Regions from separate parts of the Homo sapiens genome. Here all the other regions are linked to region 4. The links are contacts of gene promoters, found by promoter capture Hi-C in human tissues and cell types (Jung and others, 2019). All regions are on one chromosome and are shown on one strand. Each heading gives the region's core, a stretch centred on a gene start or on the middle of the fragment in contact. The rest is flanking DNA. Distances are from core to core; before and after follow the strand shown.

Region 1 (2,867 bases), core at 95-2,594, 510 kb before region 4:
ACACTTTATGTGCATTAGTTCCTTTACTTTTTGAACCTCACAGTAACACAGGATGCAGGTACTAGTACTTTTCCTGTTGTATGGATCAGGAAGCTGAGGCTTAGAGAGGTTAAGCAACTCACTTATGGTCACATATATAATAATGGGCAGAAACAGGACTTAAAGCCAGGTTCTCCTGATAGCAAAGCTCACAGCTTAAGCCTCCATTGTACACGTGGATTCCCTCAGTGTGCCCAGTAGACTGGGGATGACTTCCTTGGGGATTAGTCCTATGAGAACCTGGCATGGATGAAGGTGACAACAACACAAGGCTCCAATAAGGAAAATACACCCTAGGCCAGTCACAAAACTGAAAAAAATGAGAAACCCAGTCTAAGAGAAGAGCTATTCTTTTGGCACTGGGTTCACCCTGGCTACAAGTCAAAGGTACATTTGTTCACATTTGTATAAACAGACATCCTAAAATGTCCAGGCATAAATTGACACATTATTACAGAGAATACTGAGCCATCAATTCCAGCTTCCCAGCTCTCCTTGGCTTGATTCACCACCATGTTGCTTAAATCTATTTCTGTGTACTGAGGGTTTAATAGCACAAAGCATCAAATTTTTCTGAGCAAATAATTCTGTCTTTAAATTCTTCAAGTGATAACTGATATTAAATGGATTTTTTTTTTTAAATAAAGAGGTCAGGTCATGTCCTCAAGCCTTGACTTCACAACAGACCCAAACAAGAGGCGATAGTTCAGGAAGCCACCATCCCAGCACACATAATGTTCAAGGGCTCTGTACAGTAAGCATGTTGATTTATTCATTTTTGAGCCTTGAACCTGGGGAGTACTTTGAGTCAACTACTTAATCTAATCTTAGCAGATGATTTTACTGTCCAGTATTAAATAATTATACCGCAGTGAGTTTGTTTCCTAACAGACTATAGCATTAAATGTTAAATAAATAAGATTTATCCCAGTGTTCTGCAGCCCACTTCCTTACTTCATCCCCCTGAAGTTCCCAAATAAGAAAAACATTTCGTCCTTTATTATGAGCAATAACAATTTCTCCTCTCATCTAGAAATGCATGCTATTGCCCAGAATAAAGTTTTATTTCAAGAATTAGATCACCATATACACTAAAGCATAACTGTGTTCTGGCTGCCTGTGTTTTCCTGGGTGAAATCACAATCCACTTTGAAAATTTACACACATTTGTCATTTTAGAAATAGTTCTTTGCTTTGGCTTTTGAGTAAGTAAGGAATTTTTCTAAGGACAGTGTCAAATAGCCCTGTGATTACTCCCATTTTGGTGTGCAAATCATTATCTTCCATTAACAGGCTACAGACACTGTCAGTTTTGAAAACAGACACTTTATAGAAACTAAAATATGAGTCAGGAGGGAAGCAAGTTCTTAGTGGCATTTGCATGTTATTTTATTCTAGGCATTTCTGCAGGGTTGGCCTGCTTTGATAGGCTCCTAGGGGCATCGTGGGAGGACACTAGAACTCAAAGATAAAGATCTAACTGAAAAGCACAGCTTCTGTTAAAACAATTTGATGCCAAAAATTAAGCCACACAGAAAACTGTTGTGTAAAATTCCAAATGAAATAGAGGAGTATGTCTCCCTTAATAGACACTCCTCTCATTCCAGAATGCTGTTAAAGATGTCGGTATATTGGAGACCTGCTTAGAGTTCTGCAGAAGAAACTTCAAACAAACAAACTTTTGGAGAAGGCAAGACTGGGAACAGTAGTGTGCTTTTTAATGACTGAGGCTGAATATGCTTTCCTCTGGTTTTCTTTTATGTTTCTTCATAAAGCATTCTTCATGCTTTCCTGCTATTTTGCAGTGCCTATTTTTTCCTAATATACTTGGGTTGCCAAACCAAAAAAGAATCTCTGCCCTCATGTACTCCATTTAGTTGAAAGACGAGTTTCAACTCTTCCATGCAGGAGAATGAGCCAGCAACCTGCCACAGAAGTCAAGTAACAAAAGGCCCCCTTCAGAGGCTGTCAATTTCCAGCCCCCGATGTTCTGTGACCAGATAAGTCGGTTCCTGGTGCACCTGGGTCCTCCTGGGTTGCCAGCAAGGGTTGTCAGCATAACATATCAGGGAACCAGCCACTGTATTTACATTTTAATAAGTATTTTGTTTTCCTTACTTTTTCTTGTTTGTTCCCAGGGGTTCTAAGAAAGGGAAAGACAGTAATAACCAATTCATATAGGACAGAATCAGCTACGTTTGGCTGATTTGCAATTTGGACTAAGAAATCAAAGCTGGAATTTTTCATATAGGTCAAATATTTAGAAGGCTACAAATGTGATTTGCATAGGTTTTATTTCCCTTGCACTTCTTTGTATACTAAGTAATTCCCCCTGTCCTGTCGACTGACTATAAAAGGTGAAGTGGTATAACAGACCTGTATGAGAGTGCCTGCTGGATTCAAGCCCCTGACACCCTTTTTTGGGTCGGGTTTGTATAAATCTAAGAAATGGCAGGACATAGACACGGGAAGAGACTTAAAAAAAAACAACTCAACTTTCAGATTCTTTCACCACATCTCAATCACACCTCTATTCCTCTTAGGCAGTGTAACAGTCTTCTCAGTTTCAAAACTGTTTTCACCCTTTTATTGAAATTCTGAGAGCCTTATTCTACAAGAGCAAATAACCCCACAAAAAAACCACAGGTCCAAGGACTTCATTTCAGTCAGCAGACTCGCTGGCTGAAACTGTATGGTCTCTGTTAGCAGCACTGTCTGCCTTGCTTAAATTGCTTCCCTTATCGGACATTTTTGGGGAAAATATTCAGGATTCTAAACTGCAGACGATACCTGGGATGTTGGTGGTTACTGTCAGTGAATTTTATGGA
Region 2 (2,769 bases), core at 208-2,707, 550 kb before region 4:
GCCTCTCATTTGGCTCTGTGAGTTATAATAAAGTATTTTCCAGAGCTTTGGAGGGGAAAAAACACTGCCAGCTATGGCAGTGAGGGCAGGTGGATGCTGTACGTTCTTCCAGCCCTCAGTTACTACCTGGAGAGTTGCCTGAAACACATTTACAAATATGGCACTGCCTCTGATTTCACAGGGGAGGGAGTGCATCTGATTGGATGAGTTTTATTAAATGAAACTATAGGAATCCATAAAAGCAAATTACACTCCCGTTTTAACTAGTAACAGAAATTCTGTTTAATCTTAAATAAATCATATGATGAAACCACTTTAAACCTTTGTTGAAAGGCCTTGTTAAGCTCCCTAAATTTGAATTGTTGTTTATACATGTTTTGCTGTGTGGGGTATAAAAGCTCTTTGGAAATGGATTTTGAGAAACTCTCCTTTAAGACAACCCTGAAACCAAAACAGTTTAGACAAAACTGCTGGTTGCTAGGGGCAACCTCAGCTTCTAGAATGAATAATTACAAATGTAGGACAAGCATTTGATGAGAGTACACGAGAGAGGTCTTCTGGAAAAAAAAAAAAGGAATAGAAGTTCCGATCTGCTTAGGAAAAAAAAAAGTATGCCTTTGTGTTTTTTACACACATAAGTGAGTCAGCAGAAAATACAGATGTGACCCAATTGATAAGGAAATCAGAAAGCTAGACCGAGACCAGCCTCTCAGGGCACACATGGTATCTTTAAGACACCACAGGATTTGGTTAATATACTCAGGAATGATCAAGTAAGATGAGTAGCAGAAAGAAAGACAAAAGTGCTCACTTTGCACTCACAACAATGTCTAACAATTCTGGGGCTCAGTTCCCTGCCTGATCTTCAGCCCTTAAAGTAACATAGTTTGGGTATTGCCCATCCTGGCTTCTGGATACTGCGTCTCAAAGTACAAAGTGGATGTGCCAGCGAGGAGCTGCTTTCTGGCATTGGCTTTATGAACAGCCCTGCCAGTACTTCTGCTCGTGCACTCCTCAAGCTGTCTTAGAGAGACCACTCTTTGATGTTTACGTGTTAGTGTCGTGGAAGCACAGAAAATCACAGTAACCAGAAGTAGAAGATGAACTTCCAGAAGGGCTACTGAATACCCAAAGACCTAATGATCTTTGGGTCACTTGGGAAGAGCCTCTCTCCCAGAAAATAATTCAGGTTTAAAAAAGAAATACTGAGCCAAGATGGCTGAATAGGAACAGCTCTGGTCTACAGCTCCCAGCATGAGCGACGCAGAAGACAGGTGATTTCTGCATTTCCATCTGAGGTACCAGGTTCATCTCACTAGGGAGTGCCAGACAGTGGGCGCAGGACAGTGGGTGCAGTGCGTCGTGCGCGAGCTGAAGGAGGGCGAGGCATTGCCTCACTCGGGAAGCACAAGGGGTCAGGGAGTTCCCTTTCCTAGTCAAAGAAAGGGGTGACAGACGGCACCTGGAAAATCGGGTCACTCCCACTCTAATGCTGCGCTTTTCCGACGGGCTTAAAAAATGGCGCACCAGGAGATTATATCCCGCACATGGCTTGGAAGGTACTATGCCCACGGAGTCTCACTGATTGCTAGCACAGCAGTCTGAGATCAAACTGCAAGGCGGCAGCGAGGCTGGGGGAGGGGCGCCCACCATTGCCCAGGCTTGCTTAGGTAAAAAAAGCAGCCGGGAAGCTCGAACTGGGTGGAGCCCACCACAGCTCAAGGAGCCCTGCCTGCCTCTGTAGGCTCCACCTCTGGGGGCAGGGCACAGACAAACAAAAAGACAGCAGTAACCTCTGCAGACTTAAATGTCCCTGTCTGACAGCTTTGAAGAGAGCAGTGGTTCTCCCAGCACGCAGCTGGAGATCTGAGAATGGGCAGACTGCCTCCTCAAGTGGGTCCCTGACCCCTGACCCCCCAGCAGCCTAACTGGGAGGCACCCCCCAGTAGGGGCAGACTGACACCTCACACAGCCGGGTACTCCTCTGAGACAAAAATTCCAGAGGAAGGATCAGACAGCAGCATTCGCAGTTCACGAAAATCCGCTGTTCTGCAGCCACCGCTGCTGATACCCAGGCAAACAGGGTCGGGAGTGGACCTCTAGCAAACTCCAACAGACCTGCAGCTGAGGGTCCTGTCTGTTAGAAGGAAAACTAACAAACAGAAAGGACATCCACACCAAAAACCCATCTGTACATCACCATCATCAAAGAACAAAAGTAGATAAAACCACAAAGATGGGGAAAAAACAGAGCAGAAAAACTGGAAACTCTAAAAAGCAAAGCACCTCTCGTCCTCCAAAGGAAGGCAGTTCCTCACCAGCAACGGAACAAAGCTGGATGGAGAATGACTTTGACAAGTTGAGAGAAGAAGGCTTCAGACAATCAAACTACTCCGAGCTACAGGAGGAAATTCAAACCAAAGGCAAAGAAGCTAAAAACTTTGAAAAAAATTTAGACGAATGTATAACTAGAATGACCAATACAGAGAAGTGCTTAAAGGAGCTGATGGAGCTGAAAGCCAAGGCTCAAGAACTACGTGAAGAATGCAGAAGCCTCAGGAGCCGATGCAATCAACTGGAAGAAAGGGTATCAGTGATGGAAGATGAAATGAATGAAATGAAGCGAGAAGGGATTTTTAGAGAAAAAAGAATAAAAAGAAACAAACAAAGCCTCCAAGAAATAGGGGACTATGTGAAAAGACCAAATCTACGTCTGATTGGTGTACCTGAAAGTGACAGGCAGAATGGAACCAAGTTGGAAAACACTCT
Region 3 (2,897 bases), core at 221-2,720, 580 kb before region 4:
AGAAAAAGTTGAATTGCTTGATATGTACCACAGATTGAGGTGTGCCACCGTGGTTGCCATTTCAGAAAATTCATCTTGTAAACAGATGGTATTGATAAATAGAGTACGGTACTATAAATGTATCTCTTCCTTATGCTTTTCTTAACAGTTTTCTCTTCTCTAGCTTACTTTATTATAAGAATACAGTATATAATACATTTACAAAATATGTGTTAATTGACTATGTTATCATAAAGACTTCTGATCAACAGTAGCTCATTAGTAGTTAAGTTTTTGGGGAGTCAAAAGTTATATGCAGATTTTTGTGTGCAGGGCTCAGCACCCCTAAACTCCCTGTTGTTCAAGGGTCAACTTCAAATGTATCTAGGCTGCTAATGTCATAAAAAGGGAGATAATTAGACATTATGCCTATGAAAACAAGCAGCAACATCTAGAAAGCATTTTAGCCCACTCCCTCTCCCCCGCTAAAAAAAATCAAACTTAGGGCAAGCCTCTAGATTTAACTCAATCCACAGGAAATACAAGGGATAGGGGAACATGACAAATGATGCCGTGGAAATGGAGTTAGGACAAATACTTGGCATCTGTAACACATAAGTGGTAAGAAGAAAAAAGATGGAAGTAGAACCTACAGATTACAAGAAACTTGGGATATATCAGCCAACTGCATTGTTTGAACCTTATTGGAATCCTGGTTTACATTAGAAAACTATTTTTAAAGAAGTATGAAGACAATTGGGAATATTTGAAAACTGGCCATATATTGGATATGATATTAAGAAATCACTGTAAAATATTTTAGGTAGAATAATAGTATTGTAGTTATATAAATAAAAATGAGTCCTTGGCAGGGCTCAGTGGCTCATGACTGTAATCCCAGCACTTTGGGAGGCTGAGGCAGGAGGATCACGACGTCAGGTGTTCGAGACCAGCCTGACCAACATGGTAAAACCCCATCTCTACTAAAAATACAAAAATTAGCCTGGCATGGTGGTGTGTGCCTGTAATCCCACGTACTCAGGAGGCTGAGGCAGGAGGATCACTTGAACCCGGGAGGCGGAGGTTGCAGTGAGCTGAGATCGTGCTACTGCACTCCAGCCTGAGCAACAGAGCAAGATTCCATCTCAAAAAACAAAAAACAAACAAACAAACAACAAAAACAAAAACAAATAAAACCAAGTCCTTACCTTTTAGAAATACAAATTAAAATATTTATAAATGAAATGATGTGATTTTGGAGATCTGCTTCAAAATAAACTGGGTGTAGGAGAGTAGCTGCTGTGTGGCTGAAATAGGACTGACCATGAGTGAAAAACTCCTTAAGCTGAGTGGTGGGTGCATGGGGGTTCATGATATTATTTTAGTTTTGTATACATTTGAAAGTTTTGGTAATAGCATTTTTAAAAAATCACACTTTAAAATCACTTCATATATTAAAACAAGTCAAAATAAATTCTACATTTCCTAATTATTTAAAGCAGAGAGAGAAAAATCTCACATGGCTGACAAGGAGAAAACATATTTTGAAATCCTTCTTCTTTATACTCCACTGGCTTTTCAAGTAATTTTAGATATTTTTCTTAGAAATTTTAATGTAGCTTTATTTAGTTTTCTGTGATGAAGTCTTTATTCTTATCTTCACGATTATTAAGCTAACCAAAATCAGTTTTCAATTGTGAGCTCCAGGAGAGAAGGGTCCATATCTCATTTTTGTATCCTCCATAATTTATATACACTGTAGCTACCCATTGATTAAAGTGTAACATAAGAAATAAATTAGAGAACTTGTAAAGTGAAATGGATGGAAAGTCCTATGGATAAGAAGGGGAACTCAGAAGAGCTAATCTTGAGACCCTAAAAGGGGAAGATAGAAAAGGAAAACTTTTCTAGGCTATGTCATTAGAAGGCACGGAAAATGGTACAGAGACTTAAGTAATAGTGTTTTATGGGTCATTATAGTACATACAATGGAGCAACATCATAATGTCATTATCTGATTTTCTAAAGCAATTGTTTTCAACCCTTTGCTACTTCCTCAAGCTCCTCGTTCCCTTTAAGTGTTCTTACTTTGAGCCTTCTACTTGAGTGTGACCTGGATGCTCTAGGCATGCACAAGCTTTAGGGATTTACATTCTAAAACACTGCTTTGATTAATCCCTCTCCTTGTAAAGCGTTCCGGTATCTTCGCATCAGCTATGAGAGTTTTCACCTGACATTTATGACTCTTTTTCATCTGGCCTAGAGGTACTCACCTATTCTCATTGCCCACTGCCCTGCAAGATGAATTAGGAAAGTGGTGTCACTTTCCTTTCCGGCCCCACAGGGACACCTGCCTTTTTCATATTATTATCTCATCAGGAATGTCCTTCTCTACCCTCTTCTGTCCATTCTTTTTTTTGAGACAGAGTCTCACTCTTGTCACCCAGGCTGTAGTGCAGTGGCACAATCTTGGCTCACTGCAACCTCTGCCTCCCGGATTCAAGCGATTCTCCTGCCTCAGCCTCCCGGGTAGCTAGGATTACAGGCACCCGCTACTACATCTGGCTAATTTTGTATTTTTAGTAGAGAGGGGGTTTCACCATGTTGGTCAGGCTGGTCTTGAACTCCTGACCTCAGGTGATCTGCCTGCCTTAGCCTCCCAAAGTCCTGGGATTACAGGCGTGGGCCACCGTGCCTGGCCTGTCCATTCTTATACTACATATCTTTCAATGTCCAGCTCAAGCTCCTCTCTTCCACGTCTTTCTTGTCTTCTGACCTATGTGCCCCTGCAGTTATTCTGCATGTGTTATTTATCTTGGTACTATACCAAAAACTTCCTTTTATTGTTCCTTAGCTTATTTTCATCTTTAAATCAATACATCTAATCAGTAAACATTTACTGGATACATTTTATATGC
Region 4 (2,700 bases), core at 56-2,555:
CGGCACTCCCGTGTAACTCCTATGAAAATGTCCTCCCGTCCCTGACGCCCCGCGGTGCAACCTCCACCCCTCAACGAGGAGGGGGTCGCCGCAGGACTGGGAATCCAGTGGCCGGCGTCCCAGCATTTTCGGACGCGTTCCGTGCCTCCCCCAGTATCCCCTTGAGGGATCGCCTACTGCGATTCCACGTAGTGTCGGTTACCTCGCCCTAGCCGCAGGGAGCATCAAACAAAAGAACTTTTGCAAACTTTTCTCTCTGGACACTCGCGGGTCTCTTAAATCTGGCCCCCATCTCCCCAGAACTTGCATGCAGTCAAACAGGAAAGCTGGCGCGGGGGGGATGGTGTGCGGAGGAAGGGACCCCGAAGTTTCCAGGTCATCCCTGGTCTCGAGGAGCGCGCGGAGTGGAGCCGTTCCCTCGCGGGCCCGACCCAGGCTCCCCCCTCCTGCCACCCTTTCCCCTCCGTCCTTCCCAGACCACGCAGCAAGACCCGCCGAGGGCGAAGAAGTTGGGAGTGACTTCAGGGGCCTCTGCGGCTAGACCAAACCGCAATTCTCGGTGCCCCCATTCCCGCGGACCGCGGGGTAACGCCAGCGAGCAGCGCTTTTCTGAGGAAGGGAAGAGGGGGAAAGGGTGACCGGACGAGCGCATTTGTCCCAGCGGATCTCCGGTGTATACTTGGGGACTGGGGGTTCCCCAGGTGGCGCTCCCCTATTCCCTGCGGGCTCCTCTCGTAGCTTCAAACACCCTAAACGGCGCGCGCATCCTCCGCCTGGCCCACTCACCGACTCCGCCGACACGCAGGCCACCAAGCCCAAGGTGAGCAGGATCCACGCGCGCCGCATATTCCCCAGGGACCGGCTGCTCCCAGCCGCTGCTTGCAACCAGGGCAAAACGAAGCCTCCTGCCCAGCGCTCGGCGCAGCCCGCGCACACGAATCCGGAGCAGAGTACCGCAGCGATTGCGGCTCAGGCTCGGGGACTCGGGCTCGGGGCTCGGGGGCGCTCGCTTCCTCCTCCTGCGCCTGCTCCCGCCGCCCGCAGCTGCGCCCCGGGAACGCGGCGCCCTCTCACTTGTTGGTTTCTGCACTCCCGACACGGAGTTGGTGCTCCGGGAAGGCTGCTCTCTGAAGCTCTTCTTGCTCTGCTGTGGTTTTGCTCCTCCGCGGACTCCTTTCCCGTGCCGAGGTTCAGTTTCTGGTTTTAAGGAATAAATTCGCTGGCTTGAAAGGGAGCTACGGCAGAAGTTTAGGGGCAGAGCGGCGGGAGCGCGCGATCCGCGCGGCTGGAGCTCCGGGGGTATCTGGAGAGCAGCGCGTCCAAGCGGGGCCACTGGCTCCGCGGCTGCGCCCCTCCTCCTCCCGCGCCGCGCCTCCCTCCCCGGGTCCTCCTCCTTCTCCTCCTCTTCTTTTCCTCTGGCTCCCTCCCTCCTGAGCCTGCTTCTCCGGGCTCCCCTGGGCGACTGGGGAGAGGAGGCGGCAGTGTGACTCCCAGATAAACCCGGGAGAAATTCCTACAGGATTACACGCCGATTGGCAGCTCCGAGGACCAGTGGGCGCCGCGGCTCCGCGCTGTGGCTGCGCCGGCTCTGCTCACCGGCAAGCCAGGGCTCCTGCGTTTTCTCAGTCCTTTTCTTCCTTTCTCTCCCCACTTTTCCTCTCTCCTCTATGCTCTTTTCTTCCCCGTTGTCTTTTCTCTTTCCCTTCTTCACTTTCCCTTTTCTAGAGAACAATTAGTGAAGAAACGAGAGACGTATGTAGCTTTTCTGCCTTGAGAATTCGACCAGTAGAAAGAAACTGCTTTGTGAGTTGAGGGAAAAAAAAAGTGTAAGATGCTTTCAAGCAATGTGAAGTGTTCATAAATCGCCAGTTCATGAAAATTGCATTTTAAAAGAGAAGATAATTAATGTAATAAATATATAGTGAGAGTGTTTCCCATTCTCCCAAATCCTTCCGCACCCCCAAAAAAGGGACATGGAGGAAGGATCCTGTAAACCCAAAGTGCAACAGTTTGAAAGCTCCTAACTTCATTAAGGGCTTAAATACCATTTCTCCCTCACACACAGTTTATGCCACTAAGGCTTTTTATAGGCTCCATTTTAGCAGATAGGTGTTAACGTTTGGAAGCTACAAATAGGGTAATTTGATGAGAAGTTGGATAGAGACCCTGAATAATAACAGATTTAAGATAACTTCAAAGAAAAGAGGGATAAAGTAATTCTTAGTTTGAAGAAAATAATGAACATGTATTTCCTAAATGGAAGTAGCTGACATGAAATATTTTGTTACAATGTCTGTGGCATATTATAGAACATGGCAAATGCGTATTCCCTTCCAGTTTCTTTTTCTTACTGTCACAAATTTTACACACAAATCCCTTGCAGTTCGTGCCATCATTTTTCTCTCTGACTTATAGAGTAAATGAATTATGACGCCATTCTGCTCCTGGAATGCCCACTACAGGAAACCAGAGACTTTTCTGTCTGTTCACCATTGTATTCTCATTCCTGGTACATAAAGACACATGATAAATATTATCTTGAATAAATTTTGCTCTAAAGCTCAATTTATACCGTATAAGAGTTGTGAGCCTTTAAAATACACCAATGTAGATATATAGATATGAGGCCATGGTAATTTTTCAACTCAGTATTAGAATAAAATACAGTCATACCCTCAGTGAGAATTAAATGTCTTAGTA

What was found. Contacts are between HindIII fragments. The study calls those that stand out against the background at their distance.
Region 1: a contact is called between a fragment that was not itself captured here and the fragment with the promoter of SDC2 in region 4, in 2 of the 25 tissues and cell types used here (dorsolateral prefrontal cortex and mesenchymal stem cells).
Region 2: a contact is called between a fragment that was not itself captured here and the fragment with the promoter of SDC2 in region 4, in 1 of the 25 tissues and cell types used here (spleen).
Region 3: a contact is called between a fragment that was not itself captured here and the fragment with the promoter of SDC2 in region 4, in 1 of the 25 tissues and cell types used here (spleen).

The regions. Positions count from the first base shown.
Region 1 is chr8:97,005,951-97,008,817 of GRCh38, reverse strand. The region is part of intron 5 of CPQ (carboxypeptidase Q); the gene reads right to left. The region is part of intron 2 of LOC101927066 (a long non-coding RNA gene); the gene reads left to right. Among named protein-coding and RNA genes, the nearest start is that of TSPYL5, 270 kb to the left of the region's middle. The HindIII fragment of the contact is 9,233 bases long and covers 1-2,867 here.
Region 2 is chr8:97,044,072-97,046,840 of GRCh38, reverse strand. All of the region lies in intron 6 of CPQ (carboxypeptidase Q), which reads right to left. All of the region lies in intron 2 of LOC101927066 (a long non-coding RNA gene), which reads left to right. Among named protein-coding and RNA genes, the nearest start is that of TSPYL5, 230 kb to the left of the region's middle. The HindIII fragment of the contact is 9,868 bases long and covers 1-2,769 here.
Region 3 is chr8:97,074,273-97,077,169 of GRCh38, reverse strand. The region is part of intron 7 of CPQ (carboxypeptidase Q); the gene reads right to left. All of the region lies in intron 2 of LOC101927066 (a long non-coding RNA gene), which reads left to right. Among named protein-coding and RNA genes, the nearest start is that of TSPYL5, 200 kb to the left of the region's middle. The HindIII fragment of the contact is 6,919 bases long and covers 1-2,897 here.
Region 4 is chr8:96,492,418-96,495,117 of GRCh38, reverse strand. SDC2 (syndecan 2) reads right to left here and starts at 1,305. Exons shown (of 5, transcript NM_002998.4): 1 at 787-1,305. The coding sequence starts at 846. The HindIII fragment of the contact is 18,592 bases long and covers 1-2,700 here.